Regions from separate parts of the Homo sapiens genome. Here regions 2, 3 and 4 are each linked to region 1. The links are contacts of gene promoters, found by promoter capture Hi-C in human tissues and cell types (Jung and others, 2019). All regions are on one chromosome and are shown on one strand. The core of a region is centred on a gene start or on the middle of the fragment in contact, and the rest is flanking DNA. Distances in the headings are between cores, read along the strand shown.

Region 1 (2,700 bases), core at 111-2,610:
GCTACTTGTTTTCTGAAGTTCACAGAACTTTATCATTTGGATCACACACTTAAAAAAATCACTTGCAAAAATCTCTTTAAAGATGAATATGCTTCCTCTTCAAGAGAAACAGACTAGCGGGTAGAAGAAAAAGGACCCGTCTAGAGTATTAATAAATAGACTGATATTCACACAATGGATTAAATGGATTAAAGTCCATCCCACAGATGAACTGTTATATTAATAGAATCCAAATATACAGTTACATCCTCGACCCTGAAAGCAGTTTAAACGGGTGAAATTCACCCAGTGCTCACTTGAAATGAGTACTCTAAAGTTTAAAGCACCTATAAACTGCCCTCAGGATTCAATCATTTTTCCATTCCTTCCGGCATTATATACTTTGATGTTTTAATGTTATTAGCCCACAATACACACCAGTTTCAGAAACTCAGTTTTTGTCCTCTAAGGGCTTTTAGTCCTCCCAAAAAAAGAATAGGGCAAAAGCAAGGAAGATCATGAATCTGGTTTTCTAAAAGCATTATTACAAGACTGCTTTATAAAATTGTAATCCCCAGCTGCAGAGTTCCGCAGATGGCTTGAAAGTGTCTTACATGCAAATAAATAAAAACAAAAGGCCACTTATGCGAGCAGAACACAGCGTGCTCGATAGTCATCTTAAACCGAGCAGGTAGGTACTTTATCAGAGGCAGACAAGGGAAACGTCACTTATTTAGAGTTCACCGCACGCCTGGATAAAAGTCCTCACTAACAAAATCCCTGCCTTTGTGGATTCTGTGTCGGAAAGGGAAACGATAAAGAATACGGTTTGTGACAGCACTACTCTCAGGAGACGAAGGAGAGATGCTAAGATCTTGGAAAGGAGAGAGAATAGGAAGAGTCGGAGGGGAGATCTCCTCTCAGTAAAACGGCACCCACAGCAGTCAGACTTCAGCTACGAGCAAAATCGAGTCCGTGCACCTCAAAAAAGAGAGGGAGGCAGGGAAAACTTTCCCTCGCCTCTCCCCATCCTTCCCTCCTCCTCGCAGGAGAGCACATTAGCTGAGGTGCTGGCGGGGCCGGGCCGGGGACCCCATCCCTCGCCCCGGACGCAGCGCCCGCAGGGACTGCCCGGGAGCCCGAGCGAGGGAGGCGGGAGGTACAGGAGTAACGGGGCACTCCCGGCCCGGCCTGCGGGGAAGGGAAGCAGGGGCAGGGCCGAGGGGGAAGAGGCCTCCGCGAGCTCGACCCCGCGCCCACACGCTACCTGCGAGGTCAGCTGCTGCCGCGCCGTCCCGCGGGACCGCAGGGATCTCCGAAGCTCCAATGGGCGCAGAAGTGCGAGCGAGCGGCGGTGCCCACCGGCAGCGAAGAGGAGGAGCGCCAGGGCGCCGGGCCCGCCGGGTCACGTGGCCCCGGCCGCCTCACGTGACCCGGTGCAGCGCGCGCCCGGGACGCTACCCAGCCGAGCATCCCGCACCGCCCCGGCCCCGGCCCCGGCCGAAACCCTGCTCTTCGGGCCCTACAACCCGACTTCTTTAGAAGCCGATTGGCCGTCTCAGGCCCGCCCCGAGGCCCTGCCACTGGAGTGTCCCCATGAAATCCGGTGGCTGCTGCCGGGACTTAGAGGCTTTTGTGTCTGAGGAACCAGGAACGCGCGAGGCACGGGCTCCTGCTCTGCTCCCCGAGATGGCTTGGCTGTGGGGAGGGTCGGCCTACCACCCCAGAGACCTAGGACGGAAAAGCGACCGAGAAACTTGGCTCCCTGCCCACTCTAGAGCGCGTCTGGCCCCGGGGCACCACCCAGGTGGTGCTGCCTGGGAGGAAAGGCGGCGGAGCTGGGACTAGTTTGTTTTTACTGGAGACGCGCCTCCCTCCCTCCCCGCCCCTCACTTCCTGATTGAAAGTACCTGAGGCAGGCCAGGGACTAGGGAAGGTGGCAGCTGGACAAAGGTATGAAGGAAGGACGAGATGAGGCACAGGTCCTGGTATTGGAAAGAGGCAGAGGTACCTCGGAAGCATGCCATAGAGGTTAGACGGGACCTAAGAGGGCATCTGGTCCAACCGGATTCGTGTTACCAGCGAGTAAACTGAGGCCAGGAGAGGGACTGCTACGAGCTGCTCCAGCCTATCACCTATAAAGACTACAGTCCCTTTGTAAAATACCATACAGCTCTCGGAGAACTCCCAGTTGGCGCTGCAGGATAAAATCCAAACTTGTTGGCATAGCATTCCAGCCACTTGTTCACTTACCTTTCCCATTTGAGCTCCTAGGAATAAACAGAAAAACATTTCATTTTCTAAATATCACCAGATAACTTCACTTTTGGTAACTTGAATTATTAAAAAAGTCCTACCGTCCCTCATCTCTTGCCACTTCCCCAACATTACTGGAGGCTCTGGCTACAAATAATTTGTTTTCCTTGACTACTCAACTTTCTTTGGATTATTTACTTTTTCTCTAAGTTTCTTTACTCCTTTTTGCTTTGTTCATTCTTTTGTCTGTATCTGAAATGTCCTGAATCACCACCTCCCCCACTTAAAGAAAACCAGGGCCAATGATTAAAAAAAAAAAAAAAGGTATTAAGAAACTAATGCAATAAGAGAATTGAGCTTAGTTCTGTATCTATTCTGAGGTCTCGCTCCTGTTGCACTAGTTCCTGAATAAAATGTTTTTACCACTTCAACTACTGTTTGGCTCTGGTTTTCTTCAACAGCCTC
Region 2 (2,700 bases), core at 28-2,527, 360 kb after region 1:
GTATTTTTAGTAGAAACGCACTTTGGGAGGCTGAGGAGGGCGAATCACCTGAAGTCAGGAGTTTGAGACCAGCCTGGTCAACATAGTACTTTTAATTGCTAAGACAGGTAAACCAGGTTGGAGACTTGGAAAATGCAGAGACTTGGCATTAGGAAGAAAAAGAAGCTGGGGTAAAATAAAGGAATTTGAAAAAGGTACAAAAGAAATAAAAATAGAACAATTTTTTTAATATTTAAAATGAAGAAAAAGCAATAGCAAGTGCTACATAAAAAAGGTCTCAGAGAATAGAAAATGTGATTTACCAAAAACTTTCAACCTAGAACTGTACCTTATTCTGCTTACCTTCCATGGAAAATAAAGCAGACTGTCATAAACCAAGGGGATTTCTGTGATCCCTGCCCAACCTCAAGTTCCCTTACTCGAAATGCAAGTACCCTAGTGTATTTCTAAGTACTTTTCCTTGCCAATTTAGATTCTAAGTACTACTGTGGCAATAATTAGCGAAAATAGATACTGAGGATACAAAAGGGAGACAAAGCAAAGGTCAAAACCAAAGTAGTTTTTTGCATTTTCAAAAGAAATAAAGGAAGATGAGGACAAGTAAAGTTCGTCCTTGGATCTATGCTCCTTATTAACAGGAGGGCATTTAAACCTGTGACTTTGTAGAAAGGGCTGATGAGAAGTGTGTACAAAGTTTTCATGGCCAAAGATAAGGCTACATAATCTGGTATTATGGGAGAAAGGCTGGAGAACACTTAGCTGTGCCAAATAGTTCAAATAAAAGCTTCCCAAAGCATCTCAAGCATTCAAGTGATTCTGTGTCTTTGAAGTACAGTAGGGGTCAAGGAGCAAGAAGTCACCATCTCCAGATTATAAAGTGAAAAAGTACTCGACATTTGCAGAAAGGACCAGACAGAAGAAAAAAACACTTCTGGGTATATATAATATCTGCAACCAAACAAAATTATAAATATTTTGTTGAAATTGTGAGAAAGACCCTAAAATATTTCTAGTAACAAGGAAGGTCACATGGATTATTAAAATGTACCCAACATTACTAATTTAGGATAGATACAATGCCATTTAGTCTCTATAATTTTATTTTTGTGAATGTAAAAATATTTATAAAGTTTTTCAAAAGGCTCCACCTATAGTGACAATCCCTTCAAACCTATTTTCTCAATAATGGCCCTGCAGATGAATATCCCCGGGACTGTCAGAAACCTGCCTTTTGTGTTGAGAAGGAACTGCTATACTTCTGTTAAAGCAAGTGTGTCTATGGTTGTAGATATGGTGCTGGATAGAATTAGTGTAGTTCTGGGGACAACTGCTAAGCCACTATGCTTTACAGATTCTGTAACCTGAGTCATAGGGAACGTGGGACTACTTAAAATTGTTGGTGAAAGTTTATGAAACTCTGGATTGTTCGAAAAATGCTCAAAACAAAAAACAACAAAAAAAAGAAACAACCCTATGAGAGTTGGGTATGATAGTACATGTGTGTAGTCCCAGGTACTTGGAAGGCTGAGGTGGGAGAATCACTTGAGCCCAAGGGTTCAAAGCTGTAGTGAGCTATGATGGCACCTGTGAATAGCCACTGCACTCCAGCCTAGGCAGTGTGGCAAGACCCCATTTGTAAAACAAGAACAAAAACGTGAAATAACTTTGAAATACCAAGAGTTAGTGAGAAGAAGCTCCAGGGATATGTTTATGGCCAAGAGAACTTTAGTGTAGCAGAATAGATTTGCAGAGAATTTAGTATAATTAAAATACTTTTTTCTTATTTTTAGCTATTCCAAACTTTTAACCAAATCCTTTTTTTTTGAGACAGAGTCTCACTCTGTCGCCCAGGTTGGAGTGCAGTGGCGCGATTCGGCTCACTACAAGCTCCGCCTCCCGGGTTCACGCCATTCTCCTGCCTCAGCCTCCCGAGTAGCTGGGACTATAGGCGCCCGCCACCATTTTTTTTTTCTATTTTTTTTTCTATTTTTAGTAGACACGGGGTTTCACCGTGTTAGCCAGGATGATCTCGATCTCCTGACCTCGTGATCCGCCCGCCTCAGCCTCCCAAAGTGCTGGGATTACAGGCGTGAGCCACCGCGCCCGGCCCAAATGCTTTAAGAATTATTTTACATCCCTTCTTAAGTAGGTAAACTTCCTGTTTGTAGATATCATGTCTTACATCTAATGCAGATATCAGTCCACATCAAACATTTAATACATTCTTAAAAAAAATATGTGAAGCCTTGGAAAGGAAGAGAGAAGTTAGGAAGATACTTTAATCTTTCCAATTTCTTAGGAAAAAAAGGAAAATTCCATTTTATATGTTCTTAATTCAATGATGTCTGCTATGTAGTGAGCACTCTGTAAATATTTATAAAAACAACAAATGAACGAAGCCCCCCAAATAAGTAAATATGTTTTTTTGTTTTGTTTTGTTTTTTGAGACGGAGTCTTGCTCTGTTGCCAGGCTAGAGTGCAGTGGCCCAATATCGGCTTGCTGCAACCTCCGCCTCCCAGGTTCAAGTGATTCTCCCATCTCAGCCTCTTGAGTAGCTGAGACTACAGGTGCATGCCACCACGACCAGCTAATTTTTGTATTTTTAGTAGAGACGGGGTTTCACCATGTTGGCCAGGATGGTCTCGATCTCTTGACCTCGTGATCCACCCGCCTTGGCCTCCCAAAGTGCTGGGATCACA
Region 3 (2,700 bases), core at 13-2,512, 470 kb before region 1:
TGTTCTTGTGGTAACTCAAATGTAGTAAGTGTCCCATAAATAGTTGTCACATAAATTAATGAATTTTAACAATAATCTTCCTGGAAGGATTATGTGAGGTTAGTGGGCTACTATTATTAATCTTAATTTAAGATGAAGATTATCTCTAGAAAATGTGTCGTTTTCATTACACAGGGTAATCCAAAGACAAAAATCTAGTCTTATCGTTTTTTAGTTAATTTAAGTTTCCAGTATGTAAGACTTGATTCTTCCACAGAGGGCAAGCCCACAGAGGGCGAGCTGAAGCAGGGTGGGGCATCGCCTCACCCAGGAAGCAAAAGGGGTCGGGGAGCTCCCTCCCCTAGCCAAGGGAAGCCATGAGGGACTGTGCCATGAGGAACAGTGCATTCCGGCCCAGATACCACACTTTTCCCACAGTCTTCGCAACCCGCAGACCAGGAGATTCCCTTCGGTGCCTATACCACCAGGGCCCTGGGATTCAAGCACAAAACTGGGCAGGCATTTGGGCAGACACTGAGCTAGCTGCAAGAGCTTTTTTTCATATTCCAGTGGCTCCTGGAACGCCAGCAAGACAGAACCGTTCACTCCCCTGGAAAGGGGGCTGAAGTCAGGGAGCCAAGTGGTCTAGCTCAGCGGATCCTACCTCCACAGAGCTCAGCAAGCTAAGATCCACTGGCTTGAAATTCTCGCTGCCAGCACAGCAGTCTGAAGTCCACCTGGGACACTCAAGCTTGATGGGGGAGGGGCGTCTGCCATTACTGAGGCTTGAGTAGGTAGTTTTCCCTGAGCAGTGTAAACAAAGCCACCAGGAAGCTGGAACTGGGCAGAGCCCACCGCAGCTCATCAAAGCCACTGTAGCCAGACTACCTCTCTAGATTCCTCCTCTCTGGGCAGGGCATCTCTGAAAGAAAGGCTCCAGCCCCAGTCAGGGGCTTATAGATAAAACGCCCGTCTTCCTGAGACAGAGCACCTGGGGGAAGGGGCAAGTGTGGGCACAGCTTCAGCAGACGTAAACGTTCCTGCCTACCGGCTCTAAAGCAAGCAGTGGATCTCCCAGCAGAGCTCCCAAGCTCTGCTAAGGGACACATTGCCTCCTCAAGTGGTTCCCTAACCCCCGTGCCTCCTGACTGGGAGACACCTTCCAGCAGGGTCGACAGACACCTCATACAGGAGAGCTCCAGCTGGCATCTGGTGGGTGCCCTTCTGGGACAGAGCTTCCAGAGGAAAGAACAGGCAGCAGTCTTTGCTGTTCTGCAGCCTCTGTTGGCGATACCCAGGCAAACAGGGTCTGAGTGGACCTCCAGCAAACTCCAGCAGACCTGCCGCAGAGGGGCCTGACTACTAGAAGGAAAGTAAAAGAAAGGAATAGCAACAACATCAAGAAACACGATGTCCACACAGAAACCCCATCCGAAGGTCACCAAGACAAAAGGCCAAAGGTAGATAAATCCATGAAGATGAGGAAAAACCAGCACAAAAAGGCTGAAAATTCCAAAAGCCTCCTGCAAAGGATCACAGCTCCTTGCCAGCAAGTGAACAAATCTGGACGGAGAATGAGTTTGACGAATTGACAGAAGTAGGCTTCAGAAGGTGGGTAATAACAAACTCCTCTGAGCTAAAGGAGCATGTTCTAACCCAATGCAAGGAAGCTAAGAACCTTGAAAAAAGGTTACAGGAATTGCTAACTTGAATGACCAGTTTAGAGAAGAACATAAATGACCTGATAGAGCTGAAAAACACAGCACAAGAACTTCGCGAAGCATACACAAGTATCAACAGCCAAATCAATCAAGCAGAAGAAAGGATGTCAGAGATTGAAGATCAACTTAATGAAATAAAGTGTGAAGACAAGATTAGAGAGACAAGAATGAAAATGAACGAACAAAGCCTCCAAGAAATATGGGACTATGTGAAAAGTCCAAACCTATGTTTGATTGGTATACCTGAAAGTGATGGGGAATATGGATCCAAGTTGGAAAACACTCTTCAGGATATTATCCAGGAGAACTTCCCCAACCTAGCAAGACAGGCCAACATTCAAATTCAGGAAATACAGAGAAAACCACTAAGATACTCCTTGAGAAGAGCAAACCCAAGACACGTAATTGTCAGATTCACCAAGGTAGACATGAAGGAAAAAATGTTAAGGGCAGCCAGAGAGAAAGGTCAGGTTACCCACAAAGGGAAGCCCGTCAGACTAATAGCAAATCTCTCTTCAGAAACTCTCCAAGCCAGAAGAGAGTGGGGGCCAATATTCAACATTCTTAAAGGAAAGAATTTTCAACCCAGAATTTCATATCCAACCAAACTAAGCTTCATAAGCGAAGGAGAAATAAAATCCTTTACAGACAAGCAAATGCTGAGAGATTTCATCACCACCAGGCCTGCCTTACAAGAGCTCCTGAAGGAAGCCCTAAATATGGAAAGGAAAAACCAGTACCAGCCACTGCAAAAACATGCCAAATTGTAAAGACCATCGACTCTATGAAGAGACTGCATCAACTAATGGGCAAAATAACCAGCTAGCATCATAATGACAGGATCGAATTCACACATAACAGTATTAATCTTAAATGTAAATGGGCTAAATGCCCCAATTAAAAGACACAGACAGGCAAATTGGATAAAGAGTTGAGACCCATTGGTGTGCTGTATTCAGGAGACCCATCTCACATGCAGAGACATACATAGGCTCAAAAT
Region 4 (2,700 bases), core at 148-2,647, 320 kb before region 1:
GGAGGATTGGTAGAGTATGGGAGTTAGAAGTTACAGTGAGCTATGATGTCACCACTGCACTCCAGCTTGGGTGACAGACTGGTCTCTATTTAAAAAAAAAAAAAAAGGTATAGTGATACACTATTAATTCCATGTATGCTAATATGAGATAGCATCCATATAAACTACTATCAAGTCTTTATGTGCCAGCTACTGTAATAAGTCTTTTCAAGTTTAACTCACTGAATTCATAATGAATTATGAGGTAGCTACCATTATTTCCCCCATTTTACAAATAGGGAAACTGAGGCTGGGAGACATTATTTAACTTGCCCAAGTTTCTAAAGCCAGTTACTGGCAGAACTGGTATTTGAACCTACTTAATCTGATTCTAGAGCCTGTGCTATATAAACTCTTACCCACTATGCTATGCTATTCATTAGTATCCATTTAACAATTACTACTATTGCAATAGCTGCAATTATCACTCCTATAGTACAGGGGAATCTATCAAAGAAACACTCAGCTTTCACTTATCTATTTCTGAAAACATTTTTTATTAAAGTATAAGGTGCATTTCACTGATCTATTTTTATAATTGTCAATTTATTTAAGTACTTTGATTATATGATGTAAGAAAAATGTTAGAAATGTCTTCTGGAATTAACCAGAACACAATAAATGTGCAAAAATTAGAATGGAATTTACAGAGTTTATAGGCCACTGAAGCCCATCCATGAAACCCTTCATGAAACTCATTCATGAGGCCAAAGGGCAGAACAAACCCTCCCTGAAAATCTCAATTGGGCTTTTAGAATTTAAATTTAAATGTCTATACGAATTCTGCTGCTCAGTTTTGTCCTTCCACTCTTCTTAATTTTCCAGTGATATTGCTGATAACTATTGTTTTTCCTTTTACTATTAATCCAAATATTAAAGATATTTGTAAAAATTTAAAACAATCTCATTCTTACAAATTTTTGTTTTGGAAAATAGTTTTTTTCATAAAGCTAATGTTATTTATATTAATGTATAACAGATTATTGTTATTTTTAATGAATTAATAAATATTTTAAATTTTGTTTTAATTTTCAAGTACAGTAAATATCAGTAGATATATTCCACATAAATAAAAGCTTTTTGGAGTCCTCAATAATTTTTAAGAGTGTTAAGGAATCCTGAGATCAAAAAATTTGAGAAACTCTGCTTTAGCATTTGCCACTAATACACAAATGTCTGTCTAAAGAGGATTTTTCCCCTCTTGAATCAGGATTACTGGAAGCAGCTAAGATGCCTAGATGAAAGGTTTACCATCACTGCTGGTTAGGAAATGGATTATGAGAACTCGAACAGAGGGAAGGTGAAATGCAACCGGAGGAAACACTCTGATATGAGGTTTGAGGCCTTCAAAATTGCTTTGCAGCATAAGCCACAGTGAGTCAGGAGTACCAGGGAGTGGATAGAATGTTTATTTGTTTAACTGAGACTTTTTAGTTCATCAATTATTTTGAAGGGTAGAACACTCTGTGGGCTCTCTTTCTATTTGCTTCTGGGTACAATCACAAAAAAAAAATCTCTCCTAGCTGAAATTACATGCAGTACTAGCAAAGGGGTCTCTTTGTTATAAACTGTTCATTAATTGACGAACATTTGTGTACTTAACTATGTATAAGGCATCTCATCGTTCAATTTCAAATACAAATTAAAATATTTTTTCACATTTGTTATCCTGTTATGTTTTCTCTTTTACAAATTGTCTGTTCGTATCTTTTTGTCTCTCTTTAGGCCTTATTCTTGTCAATTCATATGTGCTCTAATGAATTGAAATATTTTCTGTATATTAAACATTACTAACCTTTCCTCTGTCACACTGATTGAAAAATGATCTATTTAGTTTGTTGTTTTGTCTTTAATTTTGTAAGCTTTAAAAAGTTAATATTGCCCTTCAGACACCATCCCAACATCACATAAGAATTTTTTCATGTTATAAATTCTTTGTGGACATATTTGATAACTGTTTTATTATGAGGAGGACCATAATTAATTCAACCATTCCCCTATTTTGGTCATTTAGGTTTTTGGGTTTGGGTTTTTTGTTTGTTTAACGTCTTTGCTTGCTATTTTAAAGAATGCTGCACTAAATGTGCATGCATGAGATTTCTTCTCTGTATTTAGAATATTTTCCTAGAATGGATTCTCAGAAGAATTCTCAGTCTGTGGAGAGGAACATTTTTAATGCATGGAAGAGGTATTTATTCCAGATAGAAAACTAGGCAATATTAGTTGTTCCCTGTAAGATTTTAAAAAACAGCCATGGCACCATGGAGGACTCTTCGAGTATATAGTTTTAGCGCTGGGCTTTGGGATCACACTTCACAACACCAGTAACTCCACAAATGCATTCCTAGAGGCTCTGTGAGAGGCTGGGTAACTTTTTCTTGAAAAGGCCAGATAATAAATATTTTAGACTTTGCAGGCCGTGTGGTGTCTGTCACAGCTACTCAACTCTGCCACACGAAAGCACCCAAAGACTATATAAGTGAATGGGTGTGTCTGTGTTTCAATAAAGGTTTATTTATGGATACTGAAATTTGAATTTCTGACAGTTCGATGTGTCACAAAATGTTCTTTTGATTTGTCCAACTATTTTAAAATGTAAAACCCATTCTTAACCTGTGAGCTGTACAAAGACTGGCAGTGGACTGGATTTGGCCTGTGGGT

The links. Contacts are between HindIII fragments. The study calls those that stand out against the background at their distance.
Region 2: a fragment that was not itself captured here is called in contact with the fragment with the promoter of RCBTB1 in region 1 in 1 of the 25 tissues and cell types used here (heart left ventricle).
Region 3: a contact is called between a fragment that was not itself captured here and the fragment with the promoter of RCBTB1 in region 1, in 1 of the 25 tissues and cell types used here (dorsolateral prefrontal cortex).
Region 4: a fragment that was not itself captured here is called in contact with the fragment with the promoter of RCBTB1 in region 1 in 1 of the 25 tissues and cell types used here (IMR-90 fibroblasts).

The regions. Positions count from the first base shown.
Region 1 is chr13:49,584,198-49,586,897 of GRCh38, forward strand. It overlaps RCBTB1 (RCC1 and BTB domain containing protein 1), which reads right to left and starts at 1,361. Exons shown (of 13, transcript NM_018191.4): 1 at 1,247-1,361. RefSeq lists a silencer at 885-1,594. The HindIII fragment of the contact is 9,086 bases long and covers 1-2,700 here.
Region 2 is chr13:49,941,061-49,943,760 of GRCh38, forward strand. No RefSeq gene overlaps it. Among named protein-coding and RNA genes, the nearest start is that of SPRYD7, 6.1 kb to the left of the region's middle. The HindIII fragment of the contact is 6,546 bases long and covers 1-2,700 here.
Region 3 is chr13:49,117,930-49,120,629 of GRCh38, forward strand. The region is part of intron 4 of FNDC3A (fibronectin type III domain containing 3A); the gene reads left to right. Among named protein-coding and RNA genes, the nearest start is that of MLNR, 100 kb to the right of the region's middle. The HindIII fragment of the contact is 4,000 bases long and covers 1-2,700 here.
Region 4 is chr13:49,264,630-49,267,329 of GRCh38, forward strand. All of the region lies in intron 4 of CDADC1 (cytidine and dCMP deaminase domain containing 1), which reads left to right. Among named protein-coding and RNA genes, the nearest start is that of CDADC1, 18 kb to the left of the region's middle. The HindIII fragment of the contact is 5,389 bases long and covers 1-2,700 here.